Regions from separate parts of the Homo sapiens genome. Here all the other regions are linked to region 3. The links are contacts of gene promoters, found by promoter capture Hi-C in human tissues and cell types (Jung and others, 2019). All regions are on one chromosome and are shown on one strand. The core of a region is centred on a gene start or on the middle of the fragment in contact, and the rest is flanking DNA. Distances in the headings are between cores, read along the strand shown. Region 1 overlaps YTHDF2 (YTH N6-methyladenosine RNA binding protein F2). Region 2 overlaps OPRD1 (opioid receptor delta 1). Region 3 holds the start of OPRD1 (opioid receptor delta 1).

Evidence for each region. The method cuts DNA at HindIII sites, captures the fragments that hold promoters and counts their contacts. A contact is called where the count stands out against the background at its distance.
Region 1: a fragment that was not itself captured here is called in contact with the fragment with the promoter of OPRD1 in region 3 in 1 of the 25 tissues and cell types used here (neural progenitor cells).
Region 2: a contact is called between a fragment that was not itself captured here and the fragment with the promoter of OPRD1 in region 3, in 2 of the 25 tissues and cell types used here (adrenal gland and aorta).

Annotation. Positions count from the first base shown.
Region 1 is chr1:28,752,896-28,756,320 of GRCh38, forward strand. The region is part of intron 4 of YTHDF2 (YTH N6-methyladenosine RNA binding protein F2); the gene reads left to right. Among named protein-coding and RNA genes, the nearest start is that of YTHDF2, 18 kb to the left of the region's middle. RefSeq lists an enhancer at 1,616-2,115. The HindIII fragment of the contact is 8,261 bases long and covers 1-3,425 here.
Region 2 is chr1:28,847,311-28,850,668 of GRCh38, forward strand. All of the region lies in intron 1 of OPRD1 (opioid receptor delta 1), which reads left to right. Among named protein-coding and RNA genes, the nearest start is that of OPRD1, 37 kb to the left of the region's middle. The HindIII fragment of the contact is 8,802 bases long and covers 1-3,358 here.
Region 3 is chr1:28,810,014-28,813,485 of GRCh38, forward strand. It overlaps OPRD1 (opioid receptor delta 1), which reads left to right and starts at 2,157. Exons shown (of 3, transcript NM_000911.4): 1 at 2,157-2,597. The coding sequence starts at 2,371. The HindIII fragment of the contact is 21,122 bases long and covers 1-3,472 here.

The DNA.
Region 1 (3,425 bases), core at 176-2,675, 58 kb before region 3:
ATTAACCAGACTTGGTGGCGCATAACTAAAGTATAGCTACTCAGGAGGCTGAGGCAGGAGGATTGCTTGAGTCCAGGAAATGAAAGCTGCAATGAGCTGTGATCATGCCACTGCACCCCAGCCTGGGTGACAGCAGGAGACTGTCCCTAGAAAAAAAAATTTTTTTGAGGAAATATTCTAATATTTGAAAAACTATTACCCAGTTTAGCAAAGAAGTTGCTCAAAACATGTTTCATGTTTGTATATTGGAACTTACACCTGGAGAGCCACTGAGTCTCTAACCCCGAAGCTCATGGACTACTCCATGATCTATGAAGTTTGCCAGATAGAAAAGTAGAGAAATGGCTAGGTGCAGTGGCTCATGCCCGTAATCCTCGCACTTTGGGGAGGCTGCAGCAAGAGAATCACTTGAACCCAGGAGTTTGAGACCAGCCTAGGCAACATAATGAAATCCTGCCTCTCCAAAAAAAAAAAAAAAAAAAAAAAAAAAAAAAAAAAAAAAATCAGCCAGGTGTGATGAGGCACACCTGTAGTCCTAGTTGCTCAGGAGGCTGAGACAGGAGGATTGCTTGAGCCCGGGACGTCAAGTCTGCAGTGAGTCATGATGGTACCACTGTACTCCAGTCTGGGCACAGTGAGACCCTGTCTTCCAAAAAATGGCATTCTAGTAAGAGCATGTTAAAAACATAGTCTTGAGAATGCTTATGGTATGTTTTCAGAATGAGAAGTTTAATGTGGTCTAGAATGGTAAGTGATAACGCTGGAGAGATTGGTTGGGCAAGTATATGAAGAGTTTCAGGATTTTATTCTTTTTTTTTTTTTTTTTCTGAGACAAAAATCTCGCTTTGTCCCCCAGGCTGGAGTGCAATGGCGCGATCTTGGCTCGCTGCAGCCTCCCCCTCCCAGGTTCAAGCGATTCTCCTGCCTCAGCCTCCCGAGTAGCTGGGATTACAGGTGCCTGTCACCACGCCCAGCTAATTTTTGTATTTTTAGTGGTGACAGGGTTTCATCATGTTGGCTAGGCTGGTCTCAAACTCCTGACCTCAGGTGATCTGCCTGCCTTGGCCTCCCAAAGTGCTGGGATCACAGGTGTGAGCCACTGCGCTCGGCCTAGGATTTTATTCTTTACCTGTGTTTTAGTTTGGTTGTAAGGGAGGGTAGTTAATTAGGGAATAACAGTTTGGAGGATGGGAAGGATGAAACACTTACTGAGCATTGACCTTGTTAAGCACCATGCTAGGTACTTTCATAGCCTTACTTTAATCCCCATACCAACCTGGGAGGCAGTATCCTGTATTTATAGATCAACAAATGGAAGCTTAGGAAAGCAACTTATCAAAACATCTATGAGGCTGGGTGAGTTGGCTCACGCCTCTAATTCCAGCACTTTGGGAGGCCAAGGTTGGCAGGTCATTTGAGGCCATGAGTTTGATACCAGCCTGGCCAACATGGCGAAACACTGTCTCTACTAAAAATACAAAAAAATTAGCCGGGCGTGGTGACGGGCGCCTGTAGTCCCAGCTACTCAGGAGGCTGAGGCAGGAGAATGGTGTGAACACTGGAGGCGGAGTTTGCAGTGAGCTGAGATAGCGCTACTGCACTCCAGCCTGGGCGAAAGAGCGAGACTGTGTCTCAAAAAAAAAATTGGCCGGGCGCGGTGGCTCATGCCTGTAATCCCAGCACTTTGGGAGGCTGAGGTGGGTAGTTCGCAAGGTCAGGAGTTCAAGACCAGCCTGGCAACATGGTGAAACCCCATCTCTACTAAAAAATTAGCTGGGCGTGGTGGTGGGTGCCTGTATTCAGGGGGCTGGGGCAGGAGAATCACTTGAAACCAGAAGGCGGCAGTTGCAGTGAGCCGAGATTGCTCCACTGCACTCCAGCCTGGGCAATGAGAGCAAAACTTCGTCTCAAACAAACAAAAAAATTAGCCAAGAGTGGTGGTGTGTGCCTATAGTCCTATAGTCCCAGCTACTCAGGGAGCTGAGGGATGAGAATCACTTGAACCTGGGAGGCAGAGGTTACAGTGAGCCGAGATCGCAACACTGCATTCCAGCCTGGGTGACAGCTCAAAAAAAAAAAAAAAAAAAAAGGGGTGGGAGATGGCTCAGAGACTAAACGAGATGCTTTTACAGTATTCTGGGGAAAAAAAGATGATGAGGGCCTGAACCAGGACAGTGGGAACGGGAAACTGGATATGAAGAATGTGGTAGACATATTTGTTGACTAGTTTTTCAAAAATTAAAGATGATGAGAGGAGCAGCAGTTTAGGGTTAGGATTTGGGGTTGTATTGGCTTTTGGAAATAGTTTCAGGTGCCTGTGATAGTAGCAGCAGCCAGGTGATAGTAGGCAGCTGGGAATCTGGAGCTCAGATTGTTGACAGGAATTTGAATTTTCAACCCTCAGGATAGGTAAAGGCATGGAAGAGTTTGACTTTTCAAAGATTCTTGTAATAAGAATGGCTAACAGTTATTGAATGCTCTGTACAGTGTCTAGCATACAGTTGTCTTGAATATATATTTAAATGTATGTTCATTTAATTCTTGTATCCTTGTGAGGTAGGTATAAGTAGCTCAGTTTTACTGATGAAAACATTAAAACACAGAAAAGAGTAAATAACTTTGCAAAGGCACATGAGATACGAAAGTAAAGCTGGTGTTCTAATTCTGCAGCGTGGTTCTAGAGCCAACACGAGTGAGAGAAAAGGACTATGGAAAAAGTTCCCCAGAAATAACAAAATTTGAAGAATAAAGAGGGAGCAAGTGAAAGAGATTGAGAGAGAATAGTTTGAGTTTCAGAAAGAGAACAAGGAAGGGGCTATTCAGGTTGAGTATTCCTAATTTGAAAATCTGAAATGCCCCAAAGTCTGAAACTGAGTGCACACATGACACTGAAGAAAATGTTCATTGGAGCATTTCCTATTTTGGATTTTCAGATTAGGGTTGCTCAACCAGTATGTATCTACAAATATTCAAAAAATCTGAAATCCAAAACATTTCTTACCCCAAGAATTTCAGATAGGGGATACACAGCCTGTATGGAACTTCAAGCAGTATGGTAGAGTACACTTAACTCAGAGGCTGCAGAGAGGTAACAGATGACTGCAGATGCCAGTGATGTCTGTTGAATAAAAAGTTGCTTTGCTATTAGAGACTTGAAAGTTTTGATCTCCGTACTTCATTCAAAAGACTCTGCATGTTTCTTTATCTTTGTGTTTGCAGAGTCGGTATCTTTCAACCTCTGTTCCAAGCCTTAAAGAGCTATTATAAAGCTCTTTTGTTTGCCTAGTATGGGCTGTTTTGGTGAAATAGACTATGTAAAAATGTCTGAAATACAGAGTTGAATATGAAGAATGGCAGCATTTTGATTTTGATGTGGCTAAAGATTGATCCAGGGAGGACTGCTATTTTTCCATGCTTAAACATTT
Region 2 (3,358 bases), core at 285-2,784, 37 kb after region 3:
CAAAGTGCTGGGATTACAGCCGTGAGCTACCGCGCCCAGCCGAGCCTGTTTGCATTTCTGACCTGAGGACACCTCAGAGGTGACAGGACCAGGGCAGAGGTCCAGCCCAAATTGACATGAGTGCACTTAAATGGAAGGGCCCAGGTTCTTTGACGTTGTACATGTACCAGCTGAGGATCAAATGGCATGTGTTATTGGGAGAAGCAGTCTCTGTGGACATGGATACTGAAAGAATAATAAAGGCTGGGCACAATGGCTCAGGCCTGTAATCCCAGCACTTTGGGAGACTGAGGTGGGTGGATTGCTTGAGCCCAGGAGTTTGAGACCAGCCTGGACAACATGGTGAAACCCTGTCTCTACAAATAATTTAAAAATTAGCCAGGTGTGGTGGTGTGCACCTGTAAACACAGCTACTTGGGAGACTGAGGTAGGATCGCTTGAGCCCAGAAGGCCAAAGCTACAGTGAGCTATGATTGCACCACTGCACTCCAGCATGGGCAACAGGGTGAGAACCTGCCTCAAAAATAAATAAATAAAAATAAATAAATAAAACCAGAAAATCAAGTGTTGTGTTGGGCTTAGGGCTCTCATATGTAAACTGCAGAATAAAGCCAAAAACAAAAAACAAAAAAAACCCAGTTATTGGAAAAAAAATTTGCCAGGCACGGTGGCTCATGCCTGTAATCCCAGCACTTTTGGGGGCCAAGGCAGGTGAATCATGAGGTCAGGAGTTCCAGACGAATCTGGCCAAGATGGTGAAACCCTGTTCCCTACTAAAAATACAAAAATTAGCCGGGCGGGATGGCGGGTACCTGTAATCCCAAGCTACTCAGGAGGCTGAGAAAGGAGAATCGCTTGAACCTGGGAGGCGGAGGTTGCAGTGAGCCGAGATCGTGCCACTGCACTCTAGCCTGGACAGAGCAAGACTCCGTCTAAAAAAAAAAAATGACAGCAAGAGAAACCCCAATACCATCACGTTGGGAGTTAGGGCTTCAGTATATGAATTTGAGGGAACTGAATTCAGTTCATAGCACACCTCCTCAGAGAAGCCATTGTTGACCTTCTAATCTAAGCCAGGGTCCCTCCACACTCCCCAGCCTGTCACCCCCACTAGGCAGTGTCCATCAATATACTCCGTTCTTATCCTTCATGGCATCTTGGTAATAGCAGGTAACTGTTCATTAATTAATGCAGCAGTTTGTTCAATGTCTGCCCCCTCCCTAAGGTCACAGATTTCAAGAGGCCAGACTGTCGCCATTACTCCTAGATCACTTATTCAGTGCCTGGCACAGTTCAAGTGTCCACTTAATACCTGTTAGATGAGTGAGCAAACCCCAGTTTATAGTAAGTTCACATTCTTTTTCACTGTGAGAGGTGGGGAAGGAAGGAAGATAACAAGTACTGAGTGGTTACCAGATGTTGGCACTTAGACTGAGTTCAATACCAGCTCTGCCACTTACTGGTCATATGACCTTGGATAAATCACCTCGCCTCTTGTGTCTCAGTTTACCTTCTCTAAGAGATGTCAATACATATTTGGACCACGAGAAACAACTGGAAGAGGAATGACAGCAGGGGTGAGGTGTGGGACAGAAAACAGGGGCAAGAGGATGATTGTCTAGAGGGAGTACTGGGACTGTTAGGCACCCCCATCTTTGTATCCTGCACAACCAGATGGCTACCCTCCACTCTGCAAGAAGGCAAGGTTTTTTCTTTTCCTGGAGAAGTTAACATGGAGGAAGTCTGGACTCAGGGCCAGCAGACACAGAAAGGGTCAGGACAAGATACCAAAGGTAAATGGGGAGCAGGAGGCCAGGCACGGTGGCTCATGCCTGTAATCCCAGCACTTTGGGAGGCTGAGGTGGGAGGATCACTTGAGCCCAGGAGTTGGAGACCAGTCTGAGCAACATAGTGAGACCCTCATCTCTATTTTAATTTTTTTTTTAATGGGGAGATGGGGGGACTCCCGGGCCCTTTCTCCAGCTCTGCCAACAGAATTCTGGCAGCCAGAGGTATGCAACCCGGGTGAGAGATGGGGAGATTATTTTCTGAAGGCCTGAAGGCCAGAGAAGAGACCTACGGAAATTGATATTTACATGTGCCTCAGTGTAAAAGCCAGATCATCACTCAGTTCCCCTACAGTGAAGCCCACCAGTTGACAGAGCCCTCACACTGATACACATACACACACACACATGCACACACACACACGCACACACAGGGGCACACACACGTGCCCACGCACACGTGCACACGCACGGAGCTGCCAGTTATTTAGTGCTTCATTTAAAAATCAGCGTTTAATTATATTATATATCACCAGATACTTGAAGGAATTCTCCAGGATAAGAGAGGAAGGCTAAAGCAGATGAAGGAACAAAAATGTTTGAAGCAAGTAAAAGATGCAGAGAGCAGAAGAAAATACTAAACAAGGCTTCTTAGCATCCTCGGAGAGTTAAGAGAAGGTATCATGTCCCTGAAATAAGATACTATAAGTGCTATATGAAAAAGGAATAACAAGAGAAGAAGAAAGGGCACTGGAAAAATAAAACATGAGAGTCAAACTTTTTTTTTTTTTTTTTTTTTTGAGACGGAGTCTCGCTCTGTCGCCCAGGCTGGAGTGCAGTGGCGCGATCTCGGCTCACTGCAAGCTCCGCCTCCCAGGTTCACGCCATTCTCCTGCCTCAGCCTCCAGAGTATCTGGGACTACAGGTGCCCGCCACTACGTCTGGCTAATTTTTTTGTATTTGTAGTGGAGACAGGGTTTCACTGTGTTAGTCAGGATGGTCTCAATCTTCTGACCTCGTGATCTGCCCACCTCGGCCTCCCAAAGTGCTGGGATTACAGGCTTGAGCCACGGCGCCCAGCTGAGAGTCAAACTTTTTAAAAAGACAGGGGCCAGGCATGATCTCTTGTGCCTGTAATCCTAGAACTTTGGGAGGCCAATGTGTAAGGAACACTTGAACCCAGGAGTTCGAGACCAGCCTAGGCAACATAGGGAGACTGCATCTCTACAAATTTTATTTTTTTGAGACGGAGTTTCACTCTTGTTGCCCAGGCTGGAGTGTAGTGGCACAATCTCAGCCCACCGCAACCTCCACCTCCTGGGTTCAAGCGATTCTCCTGCCTCAGCCTCCAGAGTAGCTGGGATTACAGGCACGCTCCACCACGCCTGGCTAATTTTGTATTTTTAGTAGAGATGAGGTTTCTCCATGTTGGTCAGGCTGGTCTCCAACTCCTAACCTCAGGAGATCCACCCACCTCAGCCTCCCCAAGTGCTGGGATTACATGCGTGAGCCACTGTGCCCAACCTAAAAAATTTTAATTAGCTAGGCATGATGGTGCACCTGCGACCCCA
Region 3 (3,472 bases), core at 907-3,406:
TGTGCCACCGTGCCCAGCCTTTTTCAATTTTTCTTGTAGATCCAAGGGATCCATGTGCAGATTTGCCACCTGGGTATATTTTGTGATGCTGAGGTTTGGGGTATGAATTATCCTGTCAACTAAGTTACTGAGCATAGTATTCAATGGTTAGTTTTACACAATACTTTTTTGTGTGAAGGTGATGCACAAAAAATCCAATGATTACACAATAAATACATGGGAAACTATTAATATGTAAAGAAGAAGTACGTGATGCTACTGCATAATAAGGAGAGCTGGGCTAGTTGGAGGTGGGGTGGGGATCAGGGAAGGTTTCACAAAGGAAGTGATATTTAAGCTGAAATTTGAGGGGTAAATAACGCTTAGGCTGGGGTATTGGCCCAGCCTTCCGAGTGGAAGGAATAGCATGTACAAATGTCCTGAGGTAGGAAAAAACTTGGCTTGGAGGGTTAGGGAGGGGACCAGAATTCCAATAAAGTAGCCCTCCTTCTTCCTATCCCAATTTCTCTCTGCTGGCACTAGAAAAGTTTCTGAGTACCAGGCCCTTTGGGAAAGGGAGAGAGTTTTGGCAGCAGGTGACCACAGCAAAAATCTTTCTGATAAGTCCTTAGGTGGTTGAGTGGGAAAGCCCTGGGGTGGGGGGCTTGCTGTAGTTGGTAGAAGTGGCTGGACAGCAGCTAAGTGGGGTGGAGAAAATGGAGAAGAGGGTGAGCTTGGGAATTCTGGCTTTGCTTTTTTCTGGGAAAGGGTAGGAGCCTTGCACATATATGGATGATTCAAGCTAGAGGGTGAGATGAGGGAGAGCTCCTTGTCCAGCCACACACAGATCCAAGAGCATTGCCCCAGAGCCTAGAGCTCAGAACCCCTAATATTGTTCCACTCCAGTTCCCTTTGGGATCTTTATTATCCAAAAAGTATTTCTTGAGCACCTGCTGTGACCCCAGCCCTCTCCTGGATGCAGGGGTCAATCAGACCTGGTCCCTTTAAGGAGGGAGACCAGTTCGGATAGAAATAATTACTATATGGGATAATTTAGTGCTGAGCACTAAATCTGTAACATGGGGACAATAATAATAGAAGCTACACCAAAGTGTTGGTGCATGGATAAAGTGCTTATCACAGTGCCTGGAGCAAAGTAATGCTTGGTAGAATGTTCTGGAAAGGCTAGGCACCCCAAGAAGAAGGATGGCTCTAATCTGGAATGGTTAGGTCTTGGAAGGGGTGTGGCAAGGATGACTTAGCCAAGTGCCCCCCTTCTATCTGCTCGCACTGCAGCCAGAGTGCTCCTTAAGGTGGTCTTCAAGAGCCTGCCCACCACCTCATCGCCCCCTCACTTCCTGCCTTCTCCTCTTCCTGGCTTCCTTTCAGTCCCTCTGCTTCCTTTATCCGGAATCCTCTTCCCTTGTTACTTCCTTAAGTTAGTTCTTCCCCAAACTTCACACCTCACCTCAAGTGTCGTTTCCCCAGGGAAGCTGTCCTGACCCCTGGGTTTTGTAGACCCTGCCACTTTCTCAATTCGTACCTATATCTTAATGTCATTTTAGGGTTGCTCGCTCTCTCTCCTGCACTGGGCTGTAAGCCCCAGGAAGCAGAGGCTGCATCTGGTTTTGTGTACTAGAGGGTCCCCCCAAATACCCGGCTCTTCTATTAGGCACCCTCAGAATTTTTGTTGAGCGAATGAATGGGGTGCAAGAAAGGCACGGATAATATAGGTTATTTACGGAGCATGTAACTGTCCGCAGGGCACTGCTCTAAGCTCTTTGTTCGAATCATTTTATTCAATCTCCCCAACCACCCTCTGAGGGAGGTGGTACGATTTTCCTCATCTCACAGACAAAGAGAATGAAGCTGAGGGAGGTTAAGTGACTTACACAAGGTCACTCCGCCTGTTAGTGCAGGGGCGGGAGGCGGGATCCACACCCAGGTCCCTCTGACACCAAAGTGGCAAGGGGGTGGGAGGGGAGTCCAGGTTGGGACGGGGTCGCACTCGAGCCGGCGGAGCATCCCTAGGGAGGGGGCGGGAGGCCTCCCCTGCCCAGCTCCGAGCCGGTGGTGCAGCGTCCGCCCCCGGTCGCGGGCGCAGACTGGCGGCCGCCTCCGGGCCACGTGGTGCGCGCGGCGGGCGCGTCCGAGGAGCCTGCGGCTGCTCCTGGCTCACAGCGCTCCGGGCGAGGAGAGCGGGCGGACGCCGGGGGCTGGGCCGGTGCGGGCGGCGAGGCAGGCGGACGAGGCGCAGAGACAGCGGGGCGGCCGGGGCGCGGCAGCCGGCGGCGTCGGGGCCGCGGCCTCTGCCTTGCCGCTCCCCTCGCGTCGGATCCCCGCGCCCAGGGCGCACGGTGGAGAGGGACGCGGCGGAGCCGGCCGGCAGCCATGGAACCGGCCCCCTCCGCCGGCGCCGAGCTGCAGCCCCCGCTCTTCGCCAACGCCTCGGACGCCTACCCTAGCGCCTGCCCCAGCGCTGGCGCCAATGCGTCGGGGCCGCCAGGCGCGCGGAGCGCCTCGTCCCTCGCCCTGGCAATCGCCATCACCGCGCTCTACTCGGCCGTGTGCGCCGTGGGGCTGCTGGGCAACGTGCTTGTCATGTTCGGCATCGTCCGGTGAGTCCGCTGCGGGCCGGCGCCGCAGGGCTGGAGCCCGGGGTGAGGGTGGGGATCACGAACTTGAGACCCCAAGCCCGTTCCCTGGACTCCCCGCGCCTCCGCATTTCCTGCAGGGGCACCTGGGGCCCAGCGAGAGGCGAGGCCACTTACATCGAGGGGAACACAGGAATGTGTGTCATCGTGTGTATGTGTGTGTGTGGTGCGGGGGGGGGAGTGCGCCGCGGTTGACTAAATTACATTTGATCATCTGTTGGCATCCCCTTGCTTCTTTGTGGGACAGTTTGGCGTCAGTTTGTGTGTCTGTCACAGTTTGTGAGTGGATGGTTGTGACAGTACAACTGTATGTTTGGACGTCGGAAACATGCCCATGGGGTGGGCAGAGCTGCTCTGAGGTGCCGCGGGCCTTTGGGGAGACCGGTGTGAGGGCACCGTGCAGGCAGGGCGGACAGGAGGGTGCTGGGTGTCAGCACCTCGCCGTGGGGCCCTTACCAAGTCATATTTGGTGCTCATCTGTTGGTGTGAGCTTGTCCCTAACGGTCAGTTTGTGATTCTGTCTGAATGTAACAATGTGACTGTTGTTTCTTGTCAAGCTCTTGAAACCCCGAGGGCGGCAGAGCATCCGGAGTGGCCGTCGTCCCTGTGTTTGTGCAGCTGTGTGTGCCTTTGCCAGTGATTCCTGGATAACATGGGCGACAGCTGTGGGCCGCCAACCGGTTCTCTGTTCCCTTCGCCAGTGCCCATCTGGTCAGGAATTCTGAATAGGATTCAGAGAAGACTCACGCCCTCCTCACAAATGCCCTCTCCCATTTTCTCTTTGCCTCCTCTAACAGTCTTTTCTTCTGCCAGAGGCAGCAGAGGTTGGTCTGGGCGGG